2 separate regions of the Homo sapiens genome follow, and region 2 is linked to region 1. The links are contacts of gene promoters, found by promoter capture Hi-C in human tissues and cell types (Jung and others, 2019). All regions are on one chromosome and are shown on one strand. The core of a region is centred on a gene start or on the middle of the fragment in contact, and the rest is flanking DNA. Distances in the headings are between cores, read along the strand shown.

Region 1 (4,689 bases), core at 48-2,547:
CTCTGTCAGCCTTGTTTTTAAAAATGAAAGAAAAAATATCTCCCTCTAACATCACCCAAAGGGAAATTTCCAAGCAATGGAATATATCATGATTCTCACATCTAGCCTAGAGAGCTCCTGACTAGAAAAGTAACTTTCAAAAACTGTTTCCTCATCTGCTGAAAAACAAAATTTAAACAGTCCCCTGGTTCACTCTTTTTGGGGGGAGAAGGGGAGCAGAAAGGAAATATGAGAGAGTCTACATTGCATGCTAGACACGGCCACATTTATAATACATCGAATTCTCTTAATCCTTTTTTTTCAAACTAAGCGAACATAAGTTCAGAGAGGTAATTTGCCAAGGACCTATGACTAGTTAGTGCTAAAGATAAAATTCAAAACCAGGCCTCTGAATTTCCGACCCCCTACTCTTCCCACCACAGCGGAATGCCTCACCTATCAAAAATAAAAATTTCTAATGGCCTATTGAGCTTTTCCATGATCTCTTCACCTAAGTAACTATTTCCAATTAATGCCTTCTTAGCAGACTGATCCCATTTTTCCTCCCTTCACTTTCCTATACTTCTTTTTCCTCTAATTTTACCCATCCTTCAAACTCCATTTTAAACTTTTTTTTCCTTCCATAGAACTTTCCTTATCTTATCACAATTGCCCTCTCTGAATTTTTATATTACTTATAATAGGCACCATATAATATAGCGTTCTCTGTTACACTGCTTTTCCCTTAAATAGACCTTAATCTCCTTGAAGACAGAAGCTATCCTATGTCTTTGGGGAGTGGCAATCTTTCCAAATTTCTTTAGCTTTCCCCCAGAGCCGTGAGTAGATACTTCTGGAATGGACGAATGATCTAAACTCAATAGACAAATACTTGTTGATTCATTAAAGACAGCCCCAAACTCTGCTGTTTCACCCTTTGCTTCATAATCTACAGCACACCAATTAATCCAAAAGGGCTGAGGGGCTAATCCACACTGCAGCCCCGCCACGTAACGCTACCCGCCCGCGCTGTCACGCCACGCCCAGCCTGCTGGTTGCAGATTTGGCGTAGCCCAACCCTGGGACGGCCGATTGGGCGTGGTGTGCGTGGCTGAAGGCGTGGCTGAGAAGAGAAACCTACGCTTTGGGTCAGACTCGGTAGCTTCCGGTAATCTTCGACAATTTCCGGCAACGGTTTTCTCTCTCGTCGACCAACCTCGGGTATTTCCGACTCCCTTCGGGCTTTTCCGTCTGGTTCCCGCTCGGCTTTCTCCACTTCGGGTATTCCCGTGTCCCGCTCGGAAGCACTCGGCAATCGCTCGGCCTCCCCCATCCCCCGGTAACGGTCGCTGGTGAGTTTAAATGAGCAGGGGCTGGCCGGGCCGGAGCCGCTACAGGGGGGGCCTGAGGCACTGCAGAAAGTGGGCCTGAGCCTCGAGGATGACGGTGCTGCAGGAACCCGTCCAGGTAATGATAACCTTCTTCTCTGGGGCTTGGCTGGCAGCCTCGGTCGGGAAGCAGCAGCGTAGGGCCACTCCGCGGCCTGGTGCGGCCTAGGCCCGGCTGCTTCTCCCGCCTCCCCTGCTGCCGTGTCCTGCCTATCTTTAGTCAGTTCGGAGGCCTTGCCCACAGCCTAAGCCGTGTTACCTCTGGCCCTACATTACTTCACCCTTAGCGTGAGCGGCTTCGGCGAAAATAACCGCCTTTCCCGTCCGAGCCAACGTCCGGCCAGCCTTTCCTGTCAGTCCAGGGGCCTGGCTTGACTGGGGGTGGGAGATGAGGGGCCGAAAATGCACCCCAAGCGCTCTCTTGCCTAAAAGATGATCGAGAAGCACATTTGATCGGAGCTTGTGTGATCTTCGTGACGGTAGGGCAAGTTTACGGAGGTTTTTTTTATTTTGTCTTGTATGAGAGGGTGGAGGGAGCGTAGGATCGGTCTTTTTAATACTAATTTCTATTTTGGTAACAGACTTCCTATCCCACGTTTCCTTTCTCGGTGAATTTCCCACCGGACAATGATGGTTTGAGAAGACAACTCCAAGCCTCAGTGCTGAGGCGCAAGCACCAATACCAGGGGAGGAGGTGGAAAGGGCACATTTGGGTTGTTTTCATCCTCTCTGATGGGGATCAGGAGCATTTTGTTGTGCATGTTTATAAGGCATTCAGGAAATGAAACACAAATAATGGTGTTTCTGTCCATTTCACTGCCTTTACACCAGGGTATGCTTTGACGCACAGTGCTGTGTTGCATTAAAGGAACCCTATTGGATTTTAAGTGTGTGATGCGGTGCCAAGTCATTTTCCCCCCTGACATCTGGAGAAACTGTATCTTTTGTGCCTTGGTAATGGACCAGGTCTGGGAGACTTCATCCCACTATATGATCTTTAACTTGATCAGAATTGACCTCTATCAACTGCTGTCATTGAGTCATGGACTTTATTTTGAAGTTATAAAGCAAACTGATTTTTAGAAATTCCTTCATATTGCCCTTAAAAGGCTTGAGGTATCAAACAGTAAATATTTTAATATATCACTACTTTCATATTTATTTCATTTTTCTAAACAGCATGAAATACTCATTTCTTCTAGTTTGGTTTTTTTCTCCAGCTGTTTACATATAGCAGCTATTAGTGTTTGAATTAATAAAACGTAAGATTATATCTTATGAAATTTACCTGTCTGTAAGTTGTATTAGTTTTTCTAGAGCTATTTCCATCCAAATTCTTTTTACCAGTATAGTTTCTTTTAAGATTTTTTTTTATTCTGGCTGTAGATGAGGTAATTATATATATATAATTTTTTAAGGCCTAACATGAACTTAAATAGATAAGCAGATTACTCAAGTTATTTAATTTCTGTTGCATATTCTTATAATTTTGTTTTAATAGTTAATGATTTTTTTTTTTTTGCCTTCTCTGGCCCCAGAAGTCTTCTAAAGTGATAAACTAGTTGCATTGATAGACTATAACCACCATTTAATAATAATTTCAGACTTTATAAAAGCATGGAAGGCCGGGCGTGGTGGCTTACACCTGAAATCCCAGCACTTTGGGAGGCTGAGGCGGGTGGATCACCTGAGGTCAGGAGTTCGAGACCTGCCTGGCCAACACAGTGAAACCCTGTCTCTACTAAAAATATAAAAAATTAGCCAGGCGTGGTGGTGGGCGCCTGTAATCCCAGCTACTTGGGAGGCTGAGGCAGGAGAATTGCCTGAACCCAGGAGATGGAGTTTGCAGTGAGCCGACATGGTCCCGCTGCACTCCAGCCTGGGCGACAGAGTGAGACTCCATCTCAAAATAAATAAATAAATAAAAAATAAAAGCATGGAAAAGAAAAGGAATATGTAGCCTGTTTCTAGATAGTACCCATCAGGTTTCCTGTTTGTCCTTAAAGTACTCTGAGCAGTAATACACTTTGATATTTTTAAGGCTTAAATGTCAAATTTGCTTCTTTTTCATAGCAGCATTGTCCATTAGATTTTTGAGATAGTGGTAGAAAGTTTTAGGATATGACTAGGTGAAAATTTTGGTTGTATAGTATAAGAAGCCATTCAAGAATGGATTTGGAACAGTGAGAAGAACAAGCAACTTTGGCTACAATGATAAAGATCAATGATCAGGGATAGTGCTGCAAATGGGAAAGAATTAGGAAGAGAATAAAAATAGGACAGATATATAAGATACTGTCTTTATTAAAAAAAAAACTATGATGACAGATTGCGTGTATTTGGAAAGCAATGAGAGTAAGTTGGAAAATTGTTCTTTCTTGGAATGCCTCAGAGTTGATGGTATTACTAGGCATAGGAAAAAGTTCACAGAAAATATGAAGAACTGTTTTCTGCATTTTTTTTTCTTTAAAGTTTTAATGTAGAATGGCCAGTCCGATATACCATATATGCCTAAATTAAAACTCCGTCTCAAATTACTACCTCTCAGAAGAGTATTACTTTATATTTGAGTCCTTACAAAAGTCTCACATATGAGGCAGAATTTCTGTCAGTTCTTTTATTTTTAATGGTAACTATTTGGAAAGACACACTAGCCTAAGTGACTTCAGTGAGAGCTTTTTGAATATTTATAAAAGTCACCTGGTGAAATTGGTTTTTAAAAAAGAAGCAAAGAGATTTTATATAGATTTAGCAATTATTCCTAGGGGTAAGACTTCACAGAAGTGTTGGATGAAGTTGTAAATAAGCCTTTCGAAAATTAATTTAATAAGCAATATAGCAATTGGGTACTATATACATGATACTGTTTTAGAGATCATTAGATGGTGAAGGAGTACTCTTGGCTGGGGATAAAATGTTCAGGGACAGCATCTAACATGGATTCAAAGAGTAACATATTTTGGCTACTCAATGAGAAATTTAGATTTAATGTGCATTGGTAATGAATAACCATTATATGAGCAGAAGAGTTTTTGAGCAGAGGAATTATGTAATAAAAGCACCACTTTGGGAATATTTATCTGGTGCTGTTGGAAAGGGAGGAAGAGACAAGAGTTAGACATACAGACTAGTAGAATAATCCAACTGCATGATCATGTAGACCAGGGCTGCTTAATCTGAGCACTATTGACATTTGGGGCAAGCTAATACTTTGTTGGAAGCTGTGCATTGTAGAATGTTTTGTAGCATCCCTGGCTTCTAACCACTGGATGACCCCTCCATTTGTGACAACCAAAAATACCCTCTAGACATTGCTAAATGT
Region 2 (4,668 bases), core at 13-2,512, 110 kb after region 1:
GACCAGCCTGGGCAACATAGTGAGACCTTGTGTTTACAAAAAATACAAAAATTAGCTGAGCATGATGGCACGTGCCTGTAGTCCCAGCTACTGAGGAGGCTGAAGTGGGAGGATCACTTGAGCCCATGAAGTGGAGGTTGCAGTGAGCCAAGATTGTGCCACCACACTCCAGCCTGGGCAACTAAGACCTTGTCTCATTAAAAGGAAAACACTATTAGAATATAATGGTTAATTGAACGTGTATTTAGAACAAAACAGTGTGGGTATCTGAGTTAACAGGAAACAAGAAAAATGCTGTATAATGCAAGCAAGCCATTGATGTAACTGTCATATTTGTTAGATTTATGGAAAAGTGCCTACTATGTCTCAGCAGCGTTCTCCATAGTAGGGTCACAATAGTGAACAAAAATCCTACCTTCATGAAGCTTACATTCTTGCAAAGTATTTTTTATATTAGCTTGGTATGGCTGAGCTCTATCTTTATCTAGACCCATGTCTAGAAAAAGTCTGTGGCTACTAAAAATAAGGGTCAAAATGCCTTTTTGACCTTAGTACTAGTCAAAGCCTTAAGAAAATGGCTTTCCTGTGAACAGTATCCGTTAAATTAGTAGGCCAAAAGTTAACGGTTGATCAACTGATAAAATGAACAGAATGATCAGGGTTTGAAGTGAAAGTTCTGTGGGCTGTCTAATCATTTAAACTTTTATTCCAAAAATTTCACTGGAGACTTCTACCTTCTTTCCAGATTGGAGATACATATATATATATATATATATATATATATATATATATATATATATATATATATATATATTTTCCAAACATTTGATAGAGCTACTTTAATTGAGGACACAGTTTTTATTATTAATTTATTCCCTTAGGGTAGTGTAAAAATTAAATCCTGATTTACTTATTTAAAAATTAGCTAAATCCTGATTTACTTATTTAAAAATTAGCTAGAACAAAACTAATAAACATTCTAGATTTGGTCAATATTTTGCTTTCTCAACTCTTCACAAAGGAAATTTTAAAGTGAGATTTGTAGAACTTGAACTGGATTGGTGACTAAGAATAACTAGGAGGTGACTGGATATGCCTGTACTGAGGAGAAAAACACAGTCTTTCTCTATCAGAGACACCTCTTCGGTGTCTGTTTCTAGGTTTTTATAGCCAGTAGTTAAGTGGGAATTTCTATATTTGAGAACTAGAGTCTCTTAGTAACAACTGAGATTAGTACAATAGTAGTCATAAGTGTTGCTTCATCTTTTTATATACATTCATAAATATATATATGTAAGTTTATATATGTGTATATGTTATGTTATTTTAGTTGCCTGTTATAAAACTGCCACACTTCATAGAACTTAAGATGCTATTGATTGTAAGATGTACCATTATTTTAAGTACAACAAAGAAATTATTTCCATTAAACTAGGGCATAACAGCAATTGTAAGATGCATCTTGTTTTAAAAGTTGTTGACGTGGGGAAAGTACCTCTTAGAACTGAAGAAATACTGTGTATCAATTCTCAGGAAACTTTGAAATTACACAGAAGTATAAAAGACACACCCTCCCCCCGCCCCCCCAAAACAAAACAAAACAAAACCAACAGCTCAAAATTATCTCGCTACCCACATTATGGTACATTTTCCTAGCACATGAATAATTTGTTTAAACACAGTCATGTTATATATGTGCCCTGAATATTTCCCAGTTGGTTTTTGGAAAACATTTTTAATGGCTGCCTGCTATTGGCTTTCCTCGTTGACTATTTAAGTTACGTTTATTATTAAAATTAAGTATGCCATGATAAACATCTTTATCTTAGTCAAAGGTATGAATGCTCTTTTATGTTCTTAATGCATACTTTAGAGAAGTATTTTGGTCGTGTCAGTTTATAGTCTCACTAGCTGTGTATAAGAAGATACCTCATTTGGTTCATGCTTTATTCTTCAGCTCATCACTCAGAAGTAATGACAGAGCAGTTTTCAGAAACTTTCAAAATATCTGAAAAGTATTTCTAAATATCTGGAAAATAATCTGGAGTTTTGTGTATACCGTCACACATTGCTTAACGAAAGGGAAACCGATAAATGTGTTGTTAGGTGATTTCATTGGTGTGTGAATGTCATAGAGTGTACTTAAATACAAGCTGAGGGTTGGGCGTGGTGGCACACGCCTATAATCTCAGCACTTTGGGAGGCCGAGGCATGGGAGGGCAAGGTGGGTGAATCACCTGAGGCCAGGAGTTCGAGACTAGCCTGGCCAACATGGTGAAACCCCATCTCTACTAAAAATACAAAAAAAAATTAGCCAGGTGTGGTGGCGAGTGCCTATAACCCCACCTACTTGGTAGGCTGAGACAGGAGAATCACTTGAACCCGGGAGATGGAGGCTGCAGTCAGCCAAGATCGTGACACTGTACTCCAGCCTGGGCAAGGGCAGAGCGAGACTGTCTCAAATACATACATATTTACATACATATAAGCTGAGGTGGTATGGCCTACTATACACTTAGAGAACATGGTATAGCCTATTGCTCCTAGGCTATAAACAAGTACATCATGCTACTATACTGAATGGTATAGGCAACTAGTGGTAAAGATTTATGTATTTAAACATATCTAAACATAGAAAAAATACAGTAAAAATATAGTAGAAAAGATAAAAATGGTACACCTGTATAGGGCACTTACCATGAATGGAGCTTGCAGGACTGGAAGTTGCTCTGGGTGAGTCAGCGGGTGAAGGGTGGCTGAATGTGAAAGGCCTAGGACATGACTGTACACTACTATAAACTTCATAAACACTGAACACCGAGGCTACACTACATTTATTTTAAAGATTTTTTCAATAATAAATTAGCCTTAGCTTACTGTAACTTTTTGCTTTATTAACTTTTAAAATTTTAAAACTTTTTGACTCTTTTGTAATAACACTTAGCCTAAAACACAACCACATTGTAATTGTACAAAAATATTTTCTTCACACCTTATCCTACAAGCTTTTTTCTACCTAAACTGTTTTGCTAAAAACTAAGACACAAACACACACATGAACGTAGGCCCACACAGTGTCAGATTTGTCGGAATTACTGTCCTCCACCTTCACATCTTGTTCCACTCTTAGGTCTTCAGGGGCAACAACACACACGGAGCTTTCATCGCCTGTGACAGTGCCAACAGAAGGACCTGTTGGAGGCTGTTTCACAGTTCACTGGGTTTTTTTTGTTTTGTTTTGTTTGAGATGGAGTCTCACTGTGTTGCCCAGGCTGGAGTGCAGTGGCATGATCTTGGCTCACTACAAGCTCCGCCTCCCGGGTTCACGCCATTCTCCTGCCTCAGCCTCCTGAGTAGCTGGGACTACAGGTGCCCACCACCACACCCAGCTAATTGTTTTTGTATTTTTTTAGTAGAGAGAGGGTTTCACCATGTTAGCCAGGATGGTCTCAATCTCCTGACCTCGTGATCCACCCGCCTAGGCCTCCGAAAGTGCTGGGATTACAGGCGTGAGCCACCACGCCCGGCCCGACAGTTAACTGTTTTTTAATTGAGTAGAAGTACACTCTAAAATAACGATTAAAAGTACAGTACAGTAAATACATAACACTTCTTCTTATCATAAAAAATAAGTTTTTTTTTTTTTAACAGTTAACAGTTCTTGGCCAGGCACAATGGCTCACGCCTGTAATCCCAGCATTTTGGGAGGCCGAGGCGGGCGGATCATGAGGTCAGGAGATCGAGACCATCCTGGCTAACACTGTGAAACCCCGTCTCTACTAAAAATATAAATATTAGCTGGGTGTGGTGGCAGGCACCTGTAGTCCCAGCTACTCGGGAGGCTGAGGCAGGAGAATGGTGTGAACCCAGGAGGTGGAGCTTGCAGTGAGCCGAGATTGCGCCACTGCACTCCAGCCTGGGCAACAGAGTGAGACTCCGTCTCAAAAAAAAAAAAAAAAAGTAACATAGTTCTTATTATCAACTATTATATTCTTACTGGACATAATTGTATGTGGTATACTTCTATATGAATAGGAGCACTGTAGGTTTCTTTACACCAGCATCACCACAAACACATGAGTAGTGCTTTGTGCTAAGATAGGAATTCTTCAGCTGTATTACAATCTTATAAGACCATCATTGTTTATGTGGTCTGTCATTGACCATAATGTTATTTGGCACATGAATGTATGCTGATTGTCCAAGAGTTTCATCATTCAAAGCGAATTGTATTAAGCACCATACTTGGACTTGGTAAAGTTTTGCTTCTAGTCATGGCTTTACTACCAGATGCTTACATGTCACAGCTATTTAACATGAACCTTGACAAGAAAAGTCACTCAACATTTCTGAGCTTCAGTTTCTTGGTCTGTAAAATACAACATCATAGATAATCTTTTACTTAAAGAAGATGGCTTAAAAAATCAGAAATGTGTTCTCCCACCATTCTGGAGGCCAGAAGTCTGAAATAATGGTGTTAACAGGGCCATGCTCTCTCTGGAGGCTCTAGGGAAGAATCCTTCCTTGTCTTTTTCCAGCTTCTGGTGTTGTGCCAGTCCTTGGTGTTCCTTGGCTTGTAGCTACATCACTCCAGTTGCTGCCTCCATCTTCATATGACCATCTTTCTCTTTGCATCTGTGTCCAGATTTCCATGTTAGAAGAACATCA

What was found. The method cuts DNA at HindIII sites, captures the fragments that hold promoters and counts their contacts. A contact is called where the count stands out against the background at its distance.
Region 2: a contact is called between a fragment that was not itself captured here and the fragment with the promoter of CDC27 in region 1, in 2 of the 25 tissues and cell types used here (dorsolateral prefrontal cortex and hippocampus).

What each region holds. Positions count from the first base shown.
Region 1 is chr17:47,185,903-47,190,591 of GRCh38, reverse strand. It overlaps CDC27 (cell division cycle 27), which reads left to right and starts at 1,297. Exons shown (of 19, transcript NM_001256.6): 1 at 1,297-1,446. The coding sequence starts at 1,420. It also overlaps a transcript of MYL4 not described here. RefSeq lists enhancers at 1,373-1,562, 1,093-1,689 and a silencer at 1,723-1,772. The HindIII fragment of the contact is 11,296 bases long and covers 1-4,689 here.
Region 2 is chr17:47,075,870-47,080,537 of GRCh38, reverse strand. The region is part of intron 1 of LOC101927060 (a long non-coding RNA gene); the gene reads left to right. It overlaps LOC124904015 (a long non-coding RNA gene), which reads right to left. Exons shown (of 2, transcript XR_007065824.1): 2 at 4,261-4,635. Among named protein-coding and RNA genes, the nearest start is that of RPRML, 99 kb to the right of the region's middle. The HindIII fragment of the contact is 6,830 bases long and covers 1-4,668 here.